4 separate regions of the Homo sapiens genome follow, and all the other regions are linked to region 3. The links are contacts of gene promoters, found by promoter capture Hi-C in human tissues and cell types (Jung and others, 2019). All regions are on one chromosome and are shown on one strand. Each heading gives the region's core, a stretch centred on a gene start or on the middle of the fragment in contact. The rest is flanking DNA. Distances are from core to core; before and after follow the strand shown. Region 1 overlaps ZFPM1 (zinc finger protein, FOG family member 1). Region 2 overlaps ZFPM1 (zinc finger protein, FOG family member 1). Region 3 holds the start of PIEZO1 (piezo type mechanosensitive ion channel component 1 (Er blood group)). Region 4 overlaps ZNF469 (zinc finger protein 469).

Evidence for each region. Contacts are between HindIII fragments. The study calls those that stand out against the background at their distance.
Region 1: a fragment that was not itself captured here is called in contact with the fragment with the promoter of PIEZO1 in region 3 in 1 of the 25 tissues and cell types used here (spleen).
Region 2: a fragment that was not itself captured here is called in contact with the fragment with the promoter of PIEZO1 in region 3 in 1 of the 25 tissues and cell types used here (lymphoblastoid cells).
Region 4: a fragment that was not itself captured here is called in contact with the fragment with the promoter of PIEZO1 in region 3 in 1 of the 25 tissues and cell types used here (lymphoblastoid cells).

What each region holds. Positions count from the first base shown.
Region 1 is chr16:88,465,682-88,468,381 of GRCh38, reverse strand. The region is part of intron 1 of ZFPM1 (zinc finger protein, FOG family member 1); the gene reads right to left. Among named protein-coding and RNA genes, the nearest start is that of MIR5189, 1.9 kb to the left of the region's middle. The HindIII fragment of the contact is 7,946 bases long and covers 1-2,700 here.
Region 2 is chr16:88,521,326-88,524,255 of GRCh38, reverse strand. The region is part of intron 4 of ZFPM1 (zinc finger protein, FOG family member 1); the gene reads right to left. It overlaps ZFPM1-AS1 (ZFPM1 antisense RNA 1), which reads left to right. Exons shown (of 4, transcript NR_148997.1): 3 at 2,136-2,235. Among named protein-coding and RNA genes, the nearest start is that of ZFPM1-AS1, 8.3 kb to the left of the region's middle. The HindIII fragment of the contact is 5,029 bases long and covers 1-2,930 here.
Region 3 is chr16:88,783,895-88,786,594 of GRCh38, reverse strand. It overlaps PIEZO1 (piezo type mechanosensitive ion channel component 1 (Er blood group)), which reads left to right and starts at 1,375. Exons shown (of 51, transcript NM_001142864.4): 1 at 1,375-1,694. The coding sequence starts at 1,631. RefSeq lists silencers at 877-1,206, 1,247-1,726, 2,227-2,546 and an enhancer at 1,231-2,144. The HindIII fragment of the contact is 3,328 bases long and covers 1,182-2,700 here.
Region 4 is chr16:88,440,434-88,443,316 of GRCh38, reverse strand. It overlaps ZNF469 (zinc finger protein 469), which reads right to left. Exons shown (of 3, transcript NM_001367624.2): 3 at 2,564-2,883. Among named protein-coding and RNA genes, the nearest start is that of ZFPM1, 11 kb to the left of the region's middle. RefSeq lists an enhancer at 1-194. The HindIII fragment of the contact is 6,107 bases long and covers 1-2,883 here.

The sequences.
Region 1 (2,700 bases), core at 8-2,507, 320 kb after region 3:
GGGAGGGCTATTTGGGGGCTTTCTTTGCAAAATGATGATGATGATGACTTTCAGAGCACCCCGAGTGCTCAGCTCTCCCTCTAGATCTGGTGGCTCTGTGCGCCGCAGGCAGTGGGCTCGCGGGTGCGTCGGGACGGTGGGCTCGCGGGTGCTTGAGGGGCGGTGGGCTCGCGGGTGCTTGAGGGGCGGTGGGCTCGCGGGTGCGTCAGGGCCTGTGGGCTCGCGGGTGGGTCAGGGGCAGTGGGCTCGCGGGTGCGTGAGGGGCGGTGGGCTCGCAGGTGCGTCAGCGGCCGGTGGGCTCGCGGGTGGGTCGGGGCGGTGGGCTCGCGGGGGCGTGAGGGGCGGTGGGCTCGCGGGTGTGTGAGGGGCGGTGGGGGGCTCGCGGGTGTGCGGGTTGAGAGTGTGTTCTCACTTTTGTTCCTGGCATTAGGGTGGGGTGAGATAAGGGGAAGGGGGGCCGCTCAGCTCGAGCAAGCAGATAGATAACGGCGATAGCACCTCCTCCACCGCACAGCACGCATCGCCCTTTTTTATCAAGTTCTCTTTTCTTCTTTTTCGTTGTAGGGTGGTAGAGTAGAAAACACCCCACCCCCACCTCCCAAAGCCATGGAACTAGGGGGTGGGGGCCTCCCCATCTCAGGTCCCAGCCACAAAGGGCACGGGTCAGCTTAGGGCCCGCTGTGCCCAACACGCCCAGCAGCCAGCCCAGAGCCCGTGACTGGAGGAGGGAGGGGATCCAAGGCAGCTGCGAGGCCCGGGGTCCGGAGGTCCCAGCATGACAGGAGCAGCTGCGCATGTGCCCTGCAAGGCAGGTCTCGCGGTCTACACCATCAGCTCCTTGAAAGGACTCTGAGAGGGCGACTGGCACCCCATTTTATAGGAAAAGGCAGCAAAGCCCAGAGAAGTGAAGTGTCACTGGGGCGGGTGCTGAGCTCCTTCCTCGAGAAGCCCTGGGTGGGCACCGCTGGGAGGGGTGGGGAGACCTCAGGGGGGTTGGCCATGGCCTGCAGGGCAGGCTTAGCGGTGTCGGCCCTATTTGACAGATGAGGAAACTGAGACCTGAGACTCTGGGATGTGTGTGAGAACCAGGGCCATGGGGACAGATGCTGTACCCCCTGCTTGTTTGCTGCGGCTCCTGGTCTGGGTGACTGTGGCAACTATGGGGGACTGACAAGGGGTAGACTCTTGGATCACAGGGACAAATGTTCTGGAGCCACTCTGGCCGCTGTGTGATGGGACGAGGCCCTAGGTGACATCACTGAGGTCATCGGCACACTGTAGCCGTTGGCGGAAAACCGTGCAGGAAGAATGCCAGTAGGATTCAGGGAGGGTGGGCTGCGGGCAGAGAGGGCTTTGGAGAGGTGGCCCCACCCCAGGGACCCTCGCCCCGGCTCGTGTCCCCCCATTAATACCACCGCCGTTTTGGGGTTCACTGAGCCCTGCCGCACAAGGGCCCCAGATGCTTTACCCACTTCTGCCCTAATTCCTCAAAGGCCAAGGAGGCTGGAACTGTGATCATGCCCATGATACAAGTGAGGAAACTGAGAGGCTGCCGGCCAGGGGGCAGGATTTAAACGCTGGTCACTGGAGCTGACATTTACCCCCCTCCCCCACATACACACCCCACTGCACTGGAAATAGCTGACTTCCTTTTAGAATATTGAAACAAAACCAAACCCAAAAGTTAGAAAGAAACCAACTTTCTCACCAAAGGAGCTTATTTTCTGGGGACAGATGAAATGAACCCAAGAAACAAGAATAGAGGCAGGCCAGCCTCCGCCCATCCCCTCCCACTGCCAGGATGGGCTGTGCGGCCCTCAGCCGTCCCCTGCCCTTTCTGTGCTTGGCCTTTCTCCCTGAAAGGTACGGGTGAGCCCCCTGGGAGGCTCGTGGGCTGCCCCCCACTGCAAACACCCCAGAACCTCCAGCCAGGATGGAGACTCTGACCTCGGCTAGACTCTAAGCCAGAAGCCAGGGTCCCTTCTGTTCTCTTCATGCTGTGTGATCTTGGGTGAGTTACTCAACCTCGCTGAGCCTTCAGTTCTCTGAGGAGAATGAGGTCATAGGCGCCCCTCCCAGGGCTGCAGAGTACTCCATGCCAGAACTGCCGGGGCTGGGTAACGGAGCTGTTGTCTAACCACGGCCGCCATCAGGATCACTACAACTGGGGGTCCCAGAACCACCCAGAAATGTCACCATCCACACCGCCCCAGGGATCCTGCCTTTGGGTTCCCAGAGGATCTCATTTCTCAAGAGTCACTCAAAATATAAAATCCAGGAAGGGGGAAATGGCAAGCTGGCCTGCACCCACTGGGAGCCCAGGCGGCTCCACAGGAAGCCTTTCTGCCAGCGAGGGAGCGGCCGGGCCACTGCCTCAAGGAGACATCGTAGCTGCGTGGCCTTGGTTTCCCCCGTGCACGGCGGGCCCCTTGGCACCCTCCACCCCATGGCTGCTTCACCTGTCCCTCCTCCACCCCTATGGCTGCTTCACCTGTCCCTCAGCAGGAGGATTAGCCGCACGCCGGGCTCTAATCGCCGCTAATCGCTCCATCAGCGCCGGATCTCGGATCAGCTGAAGGAGGCGGCTTTATCCAGACAGACGCCGCGATGGCACCTGAGTCCCATCTGGGCGCAGCTGTCAGGTGCAGCAGCAGGGCCAGGGATGGCTGGGGACAGGGTGGGAGCCAAGCCGGGGAGCAC
Region 2 (2,930 bases), core at 393-2,892, 260 kb after region 3:
GCAGCGCTCGGCGAGGCTGCTGGGGCCTGGCCCTCCCCACCCTGGCCTTCCTGAGCCTCTAATGAATATTAATGAGCAGAGGAGGGTGAAAAAAATTAATCTGCTTGATCCTCCGATGGGTGCTGCGGTAACGATATGAAATCTAATTATTCGTCCCAATATTTCTAAACCCTCAAACTGAGACTGACAGCCTGCCGGCCGGTTTAATGCTTATCACTCCCAGGAGCAGCGTGTTCCCAGCATGATAAAAACACGCGCCGCAACTGTGCTGACGCTGCACGCACCCCCGATTTTTCTGTGGCGGTCCCGAGTGGAGGGCAGGCGCCATGTTCCCGCCCGGCCCCGCCGAGTGCACCCCGCGTATGTGGGGCGCGACGGGGCGCCTGGCCTGGCTGTGCGGGTGGGGAGGGGCAGGGGGAAGGAGGGTGAGGCTCCCATCCGGCACCCGCCCCCGACCCGGGAGGGAACAGGTAGGAGACCTAGGGGTGCAAGATAAGCAGCTCCGGCCACCCTGCCACGGCCCCCACTGCCAAACACTCTCAGAGGGGCCTGCCGCTCCTACTTCTGCGACCACAGGCTGGGAAGGGGTGAGGGCCTCCCTGCCAGTCTGCCCTGGCTGCTGAGGATGCAGGGGCCACCCTGACACCTCTCAGGGGACAGGTGAGCACAGCCTCGCCTGGGGCCACCAGGGTCCCCAGCCTGGAGGTGGCATGGACACGGCCAGCCCTGAACCAGGGTCTTGCCCGGTGCCAAGTGGCCGGACCCCTGAAGCCAGCCCGGGGCCACCCGCCCATCCTGGGAGCCACTGCTGGGGCCGCGGCCAGGAGACGCTGGGGCAGGAAGCCAATTTCAGCTTCTGCTTCCCTTGCGGAGGGGCTGGCCGGGCACGGGTCTGCCTGTTGATTTTTTTCTGTCTCTTCTTGTTTCCCCACCTCTGATCAGCCTGGAACAGAAGCCCTTTCTCTGGTGCTGCAGGCCCTTCCTGACCCTGCTCTGCCTGTGGGCACTGGGGAGCAAGGGGGAAGGGGGCCTATTTTTTTTTTTTTTTTGAGATGAAGTCTCACTCTTGTCCCCCAGCCTGGAGTGCGATGGCATGATCTCGGCTCACTGCAACCTCCACCTCCGGGGTTCAAGCAATTCTCCTGCCTCAGCCTCCCGAGTAGCTGGGATTACAGGCAAGCACCACCACACCCAGCTAATTTTTGTAGTTTAAGTAGGGACGGGGTTTCACTATGTTGGGCAGACTGGTCTTGAACTGCTGACCTCAGGTGATCTGCCCGCCTTGGCCTCCCAAAGTGCTGGGATTACAGGCGTGAACCACCGCGCCTGGCCTTGGGAGGGGGCCTATTTTTAACTTCCAAACCAGGCCCTTCTGCCAAGACTCTCAGAGATGTGGGTGCTGCGGCCATCTTCCCTCCCAGGGTGCCACAGGCTCGGCACCCAGCCTGGTCAGGCAGGTGTGTCCAGGGTCCACGGAGGACGCTAGAGCCCACCCTGTTTGCCGCCCCTTGGGGTTGCCCTGTCCCTCCTCTGGGCCCTGGCCGGCCCCACCAGCAGTGGCCACTTTAAATTCCCCGGGCGGACCTGAGAATGTTCCTTGTTTCCCCCAACAAAGAGGTCAGTGTCTTGATTCTGCGGTGGCACCGATAGCCATCGGAAACCCTATCTGTGCAGCATCCGCTGTGACAACTTTATCTGAGGCCGTTCCCAAACCTCGCTGTGAAGCTCTGAAGCAGCTTGCAGGGCTGCTGGGGTGGCCCGGCCCATGGAGCCAAACGGCCGGTCCTGCAGAAGCCCCGTGGGGCTGCTTGGTCATCCCCAGGACACTGCGGGGTAGTGGGCCAGCAGCAGGTTCACGGGAGGGTGGGAGCTGAGGCTGAGGCTGAGGCTGCTGAGGCCCCAGCCCGTCTTTCCTCCAGCCCACCCTGAGAAGTCCTCCACCTCCCCATCACCTTAACAGAGGCACCAGCTGGTCCCTCAGTGCCTCTGTCTCCCTCGACCATGCAAGGAGTACACTTCCCAGGTGAGGGCCTGAGGCCTGCACGACTACAAGCCAGGTCCGTGAGACCCCTGCCGCCTTGCTGCTGCCACTTCATCCACTGGGTCACACACTCACTCACTCCCTTATCCGGCAGGCAGGCCTTGTGCACCAGCTGTTGCCAGGTGTGGGGAACACAGTGAACAGAACTGCATCTCCCGTGAGTCCTGGAGTGTGGAGCCGCCCAGAAATAGCAGGTAGGCACCTGGAGGGGCAGCGACAGAGACACGGGACAGGCTGAGACGGGGAGTGGGGGTGGCTGTGCCAGGATGTTGGCCGAGACCTGGAGGGTGAGGAGGGGAGGGTGTGGATACGAGGGGGCCAAGGAACAGCACGGGGGAGGAAACAGAGAGGAGGGAACAGCATGGAGAGGGAACAGCATAGGGGAGGGAACAGCACAGGGGAGGGAACAGCACAGGGGAGGGAACAGCACAGGGTGTGGGAACAGCACAGGGGAGGGAACAGCACAGGGTGTGGGAACAGCACAGGGGAGGGGGAACAGCACAGGGGAGAGGGAACAGCATGAGGGAGGGAACAGCACGGGTTGGGGGAACAGCACAGGGGAGGGAACAGCACGGGGGAGGGAATAGCACGGGTTGGGGGAACAGCATGAGGGAAGGAACAGCATGGGTTGGGGGAACAGCACAGGGGAGAGGGAACAGCATGAGGGAGGGAACAGCACGGGTTGGGGGAACAGCACGGGGGAGGGAACATGGTGTTGGTGCTCAGGATACCTTAGCGGGGGGTCCCTGACCCACGATGGCCTGAGGCTTTCTCACCTGGGGATGGGGCTGGGACCCCTGGAGGCACCACAGGGTCTGAGCAGTCCTCTGAAACCATGCAGGGAGCCCCAGAGCCTGGCGTCAGGGGTCATCACCATGGCAGAACCTGA
Region 3 (2,700 bases), core at 126-2,625:
TTTATTTATTTATTTATTTATTTATTGAGACGGAGTCTGGCTCTGTCGCCCAGGCTGGAGTGCAGTGGCGCTATCTCGGCTCACTGCAAGCTCCGCCTCCTGGGTTGATGCCATTCTCCTGCCTCAGCCTCCCGAGTAGTTGGGACTACAGGAGCCCGCCACCACGCCCGGCTAATTTTTTATGTTTTTAGTAGAGATGGGTTTTCACCGTGTTAGCCAGGATGGTCTCGATCTCCTGACCTGGTGATCCACCCGCCTCGGCCTCCCAAAGTGCTGGGATTACAGGCGTGAGCCACCGCGCCCGGCCTAATTTTTGTATTTTTAGTAGAGACGGGGTTTCACCATGTTGGCCAGGCTGGTCTCGAACTCCTGACGTCAAGTGATCCCCCGACCCCCTACCCCCTTGCCTCAGCCCCGCAAAGTGCTGGGATTACAGGCCTGAGCCACTGCCCCGCCATCTTTTTTTTTTTTTTTTTTTTTTGAGCTGGAGGGTGTGGGCTTGTGCTGGGCTCTCATGAGTTGCCAGTGCCTTGAGGCTCAGTGGCCACAGTCCCCCCAGCCCCACTCCCTGCCTTACGCAGCTGAGTTTGAGAGCCATGAACTGAGCCCAATTAAACGGTGTAGAGCCCTTTGCCCTCTTTCTGTGCCCATCTCAAGGGCAGACGAAGGCCAAACTGACGTGGCCTGGGTGAGGGTCCCGAACACCCTGGACTCAGACCCTACCTCTCCGTGGCAGGGCGCCGCGGCAGCAGGTGCACAGGCCGTGGCTCTCACTCTCACCGTCTCACGCCAGAGCGACCCGGGCAAAGCCGCGCGCGGTGGCCGGCGTGGCTGGGAGCAGCCCCCGAGCCCCCGTCAGACCAACGCGGATCGCGGCACTGCTGCGACCCGAGCATCCCGCGTGCTCCCTCCGGGACCACTAGGCCCGGCCGCCGCGGGAACTCCGAGCCTCCCCACGGTCCCCAGGGGGCGCTGCGTGCTCGCGCCTCGGGGAGCAAAGCGAAAGTCGCTCGGGCACGCGGGGTGCAGTTGCGCGTGGGGCGCTGCCTGGGGGAGCCAGAGGCCCCGGGACCCCTTATGTAGCGCCCGGGCCCCAGCCGCAGCCCACCCAGCGAGAAGCGCCCCTGCCCACCGCCGCGCACGCTCGGAGCCGCGGGGCCAAGACTGCGGGAGGGGAGGGGTCCGCTCCGGGCCAGCGCCAGTCGGGGGTCTCCAGGCCCCAACGCACCAGGGCGGGCCGGAGGCGGGACGGGCCGCGCGGGACAGCGGAGGGGGTGCCTGGGCGCGCCGGGCCGTCGGGGAAGCGCGGAGGCGGGCACGCCGGGGAGGGCGGGAGGGGGCCGAGCTTATAAAGGCCCGCGGGCGGAGGAGGGCGGGAGCCGCCGTCCGGCCCAGCTCGGCCCCAGTGAGCCGAGCGCTGCGCTCCGCCGAGGGGCAGGGCGGTCGCCTGAGCGAGCGCGGGCCCGGGACGTCGGCACCGGCGGGGCGGCCGAAGGAGAAGGAGGAAGAGGAGAAGGCGGCGCGCGGGTCCCCGCGGGTCAGCCATGGCGCGCCGGCCCCGGGGCCCCCGCACCGCCCCATAGCGCCGCGGCGTCCGCTCGGTCTGGGCCGGGCCCTGGGCCCTCCAGCCATGGAGCCGCACGTGCTCGGCGCGGTCCTGTACTGGCTGCTGCTGCCCTGCGCGCTGCTGGCTGGTGAGTGGGGGGCGGGCGCCTGGGGGCGACGGGAGGGGGCTGCGTCTCGGCTCCCCACGGCCTGGACACCGGACGACGCCGGCCGGGGCGAGGGCTGCGGGCGAGCGGGCGCGGAAATTCCCAGGGACGCGCGACCCGGGCGCCCGCATTCCTGAAGCATGAGCGCGCCAGGCGGCGGCGGGGCTCCTGTCCCAGGGCCGGGCTGGAAGGGCGGCGGCGGCTGGGGGAGACGGCACCGCGTGCCCACGGGGGCGGTCGAGCGAGCGCCGGGCATAGCGCGGCTGGCGTCTCCGCCGGGGCGCTGCGGAGAGGAGGCCGCCGGGCGAGGCGGTGTTTGCCCCGGTGGGAAGGGCCGCGGCGGTGGTGGGGGGAGCACGAATCTCTTTTTCTCTTTCGGGTTTAAAAAAAAAAGCGCAAAGTTGCATCAGGACTTCCTGACAATCTGGGAGAAGGCGGGCTTCCTGCCTGGAGCTGTTTAATTTGGAGCTTCCCGAGCCCAACGAACGTCCGTGCCCAGGGCCCAGCCCCGCTCACCGCTGCACCCCCCTCTGCCGGACTGAGGCGGTCCCACACTTTGGAAAAAAATAGTGTGGGTTCCTCCCTGGTCCTCCCTTGCCCTACTGGGCTCAGTTTCGCAGGGGCGGGGGCCGGCCTCTGCCCTGGTCTGGGGGAGGGGACACCCCCGGAGGCTGTGGCCTGGTGTCAGGGCGGGGCAGGGGTCCCCAGTCCTGGCATCTGTGTTCCCTGCTTGCCGGGCAGTGGTGCCCCTTTCGCGAAGCACACCCGGGTGGCTTGGTGCTGCACGGCCTGGCACCCCTACCCTTCCCCGACCCTGGCCTAGCCGGGACCCAGGGTCCGCGCCCTCCGCCCGGGGGCTCCCCACGTGTGATTGATCTGGGAAGCAGTCGGATGGAATTAACCCACGGACAAGTGGGACGGTTTGCATTGGGAGTCCGCCATGGACACGGCAGGTGGGGCCTTTTGATTGTAAAAGCCCTTTCGGAGC
Region 4 (2,883 bases), core at 268-2,767, 340 kb after region 3:
GGGTGTGCACGTGGGTGGTTTGCAGGTCAAGTGGGTGTGGGGTCGGCAGGTGCGGTGCCTCTGGAGGCTGCAGGCGGCCGCCCTGCCCAGGTGGAGGCTGGACCCCCTGGCTGGGCGAATGCTGCCACCTGGTGGCCAGGCGGGGGCCGTCCACATCCTGGGTCTCCAGCCAAACGGTGGTTTCAGGCCCCACAGGAGGAGCGGTGAGTGGACAGGGGCAGGGCTCACTCCTGGCAGTCCCTGAGCATGGCCTCAGATGGCTCAGAGCAGCGGCCCTCCAACGTCAGCCCCCGAGGCTGGTGGGAGCGAGTGCCCAGCCCGTCCCAGAGCCGCTGACCCGAGTGGGGTGCCCTGGATGCTGCCGGCCGGGGCCCTGCCTGAGACACACTGTGCTGAACAGACACACTGCGGGTGTCCCAGACTGCAGACCTGGTGGGACCTCAAGGGTCTCCACCCATGAAGTCCATGGGACCCTTTCACACACCGAGCCCAGACAGGCAGCCCCGTGACCCACCGCTGCCCCAACACCAACTCAGAGCCCTGTGCGGGGTGCAAGGTCCTTTCCATGCCCTTCCCCCCAACCCCCGTCTACGGGCCTCCTGCGGAGCCTCCTCCCTGGATATGAAGCCACCCGCCAGGTATAGTCCCTGTGCCAGACCAGCACCTGTTCAGAAGGCCCCGCCTGGGGGCTGCGTCTGCTGGCTTCCCTGAGCCAGGCTCCTTGCACAGTGGGGGGGTAATGTGAGCAAAGGGGGTGGGCAGATGGCCACACCCCCACTCACCAGCCCCTCCTGCAGGCAGGCCTGGCCCAGGCTGCCTTGTGGCCTCTGCCACCATCAGGGCTGGGAAGACCCCAAAACCAGTGTCCGAGCAGAGAGCCACCCAGGCAGAGGACGGCGGGCGTGAGGGGAGGGGCCCAAAAGGAGGGAAGGGGCCGTGTGCGGGCCTGGGAACAGTGTTCCTGGCAAAGGGAACCCTGCAGGCAGGCGCCTGGCGGGTGGGGAGGCGGTGGGGGTGGGTGGGCCACAGCCGCAGGCCGCAGGTGAATCTGTCCTCTATCCAGGGAAGAGGGGCACCGTGTGCTTGGACGGAAGTGGTGAGACCCCGGTTAAGGTGTCTCATTTAGGAGCTCCGCTTCCCGTGGAAGAGGGGAGGAAAGCAAGGCTGGTGAGGCAGGGAGGGCTGGAGGCCTCCTCTGAGCAGCCTCCTCATCTGCCCAGTCAGGGGTCTACTCTGACCCACCCTCACTGGAGAGGGTCACTTGTCTCCTGGACACTGGGATCTTTGAGGGGCGCTGTAGGGCACAGGAGGCTGGGTGGGGAGGGTCTCCTGGTTCCACTCTTCCTGCGGCCCTGGCCCCTTCCCTGCGGCTCCCTCAATGGAGCCACTCTGCTCCCTGAGGACCCCATCCCGGAGCCAGGAAGTTTTGGAAACAGAGCGGGAGACTGAGGCAGTGCTGCTGACGGCCTCATGATCTCCGTGTGTTAACAAGCAGGAAGGTGTGGCTGCCCCGCTGGGAATCATTTGTAAGATCCCGCCCAGGTTCTGCTGGGGTCTAGAGCTCCCCATGCCCCCAGCCCCTGCAGCTGGCATGACGGTGTCCGACATCCACCCCGAGAGCAGGGCTTTGAGGACAGGCGCTGCCCTCCCCACGCTGGGCCCCTTCGCAGACGCCCTTACGGTGTGAGTTCCGCCAGCAACAAGTGGAAAGCAGGGGAGGCCCAGCGCCCACCTGGGGGAGGGGTGAAAGCTGACCAAGTCCATTGGCCAAGAAGATGAGAGGATGCCTTGATGGTCAGTGGCAGGCACTTCCACAGAACATTCCAGAAGACAGTCTCAGGAGAAGCTTGGAAGGGCCATGAGGGAGCAGGCTTTGAGGCAGGGACGTGTGGACACCTTCAGGGACCCGAGTGTGGGAGAGAGGAGGGGACAAGGCGGACAAGGCTGCGTCTCTGGGTAGGTGAGGGGGCCTGGCTCCCCAGCCTGGGAGGGCTGCGTCCTGGCATGTGAAGGCTGGAAAACTCACACCAGACGGGTGCCTGGGGGGAGGCCCGAGGGTGGCAGAGCCCAGTCCCCACGCCTATCCTCCCTCAGCCCAGCCCCATCGCTCCCTGGGTCCCCCGGGCTGCTTCTGATGTGGGGGAGGGGCGCCAGGGCACCTCAGCCTCCCGTCTGTTCCTCCTGGGGGGTGAGGGGGGGCCTCAGTGAGGATGGCCGGGGTGGGCCTGCCCCTTTCTGGAAAACCTGGGCCAGCCCCCACTGCTGAAGGGGTGGTGTGTTCCTCCTGGGGGCGGGGGAGGTCCTCAGTGAGGATGGCCGGGGTGGGCTTGCCCCTTTCTGGAAAACCTGGAACACCCACTGCTGAAGGGGTGTTCTTAGGACACAGCCATGGCTGCATCACTGGGTCCTGCACGAGGTCCCGCAGCCCCGGCTGGGCCCTTGGCCCACGGTGGCCCGAGAGTGGCAGCTGGCGCAGACACCCTGGGAGCCAAGTTCTGAGGCTCAGGGAGGTGCAGACCAGGGATGGGGGCCGGCGGGAGGACAGACGTCACGCAGCTGGAGGTTTTCTGCGAAAATAGTGGGAATATATTTGAAAAGACAAGTCACTATGATGTTTACAGTACAACCTCAGGGCCCCTCCGCACTTGGTTTGCGACACTCCGGAGGCGTTTTGAATGGCCTACAACACCTTCCAGAGAGGCGGTCTGGGCCTGATTTGGTCTCTTTCAAATATCAAAATAAAAACTTTTGACGTACACATTGCACCCAAGTAAAAACTAAACAATAGAGCAAAACAAACCATGGATCTTCAAGATACTTATGGAGAGAAGGGTGAGAAGGAAGCCCTCTCACCCTTTGACCCACCTTCACAGGCACGACGCT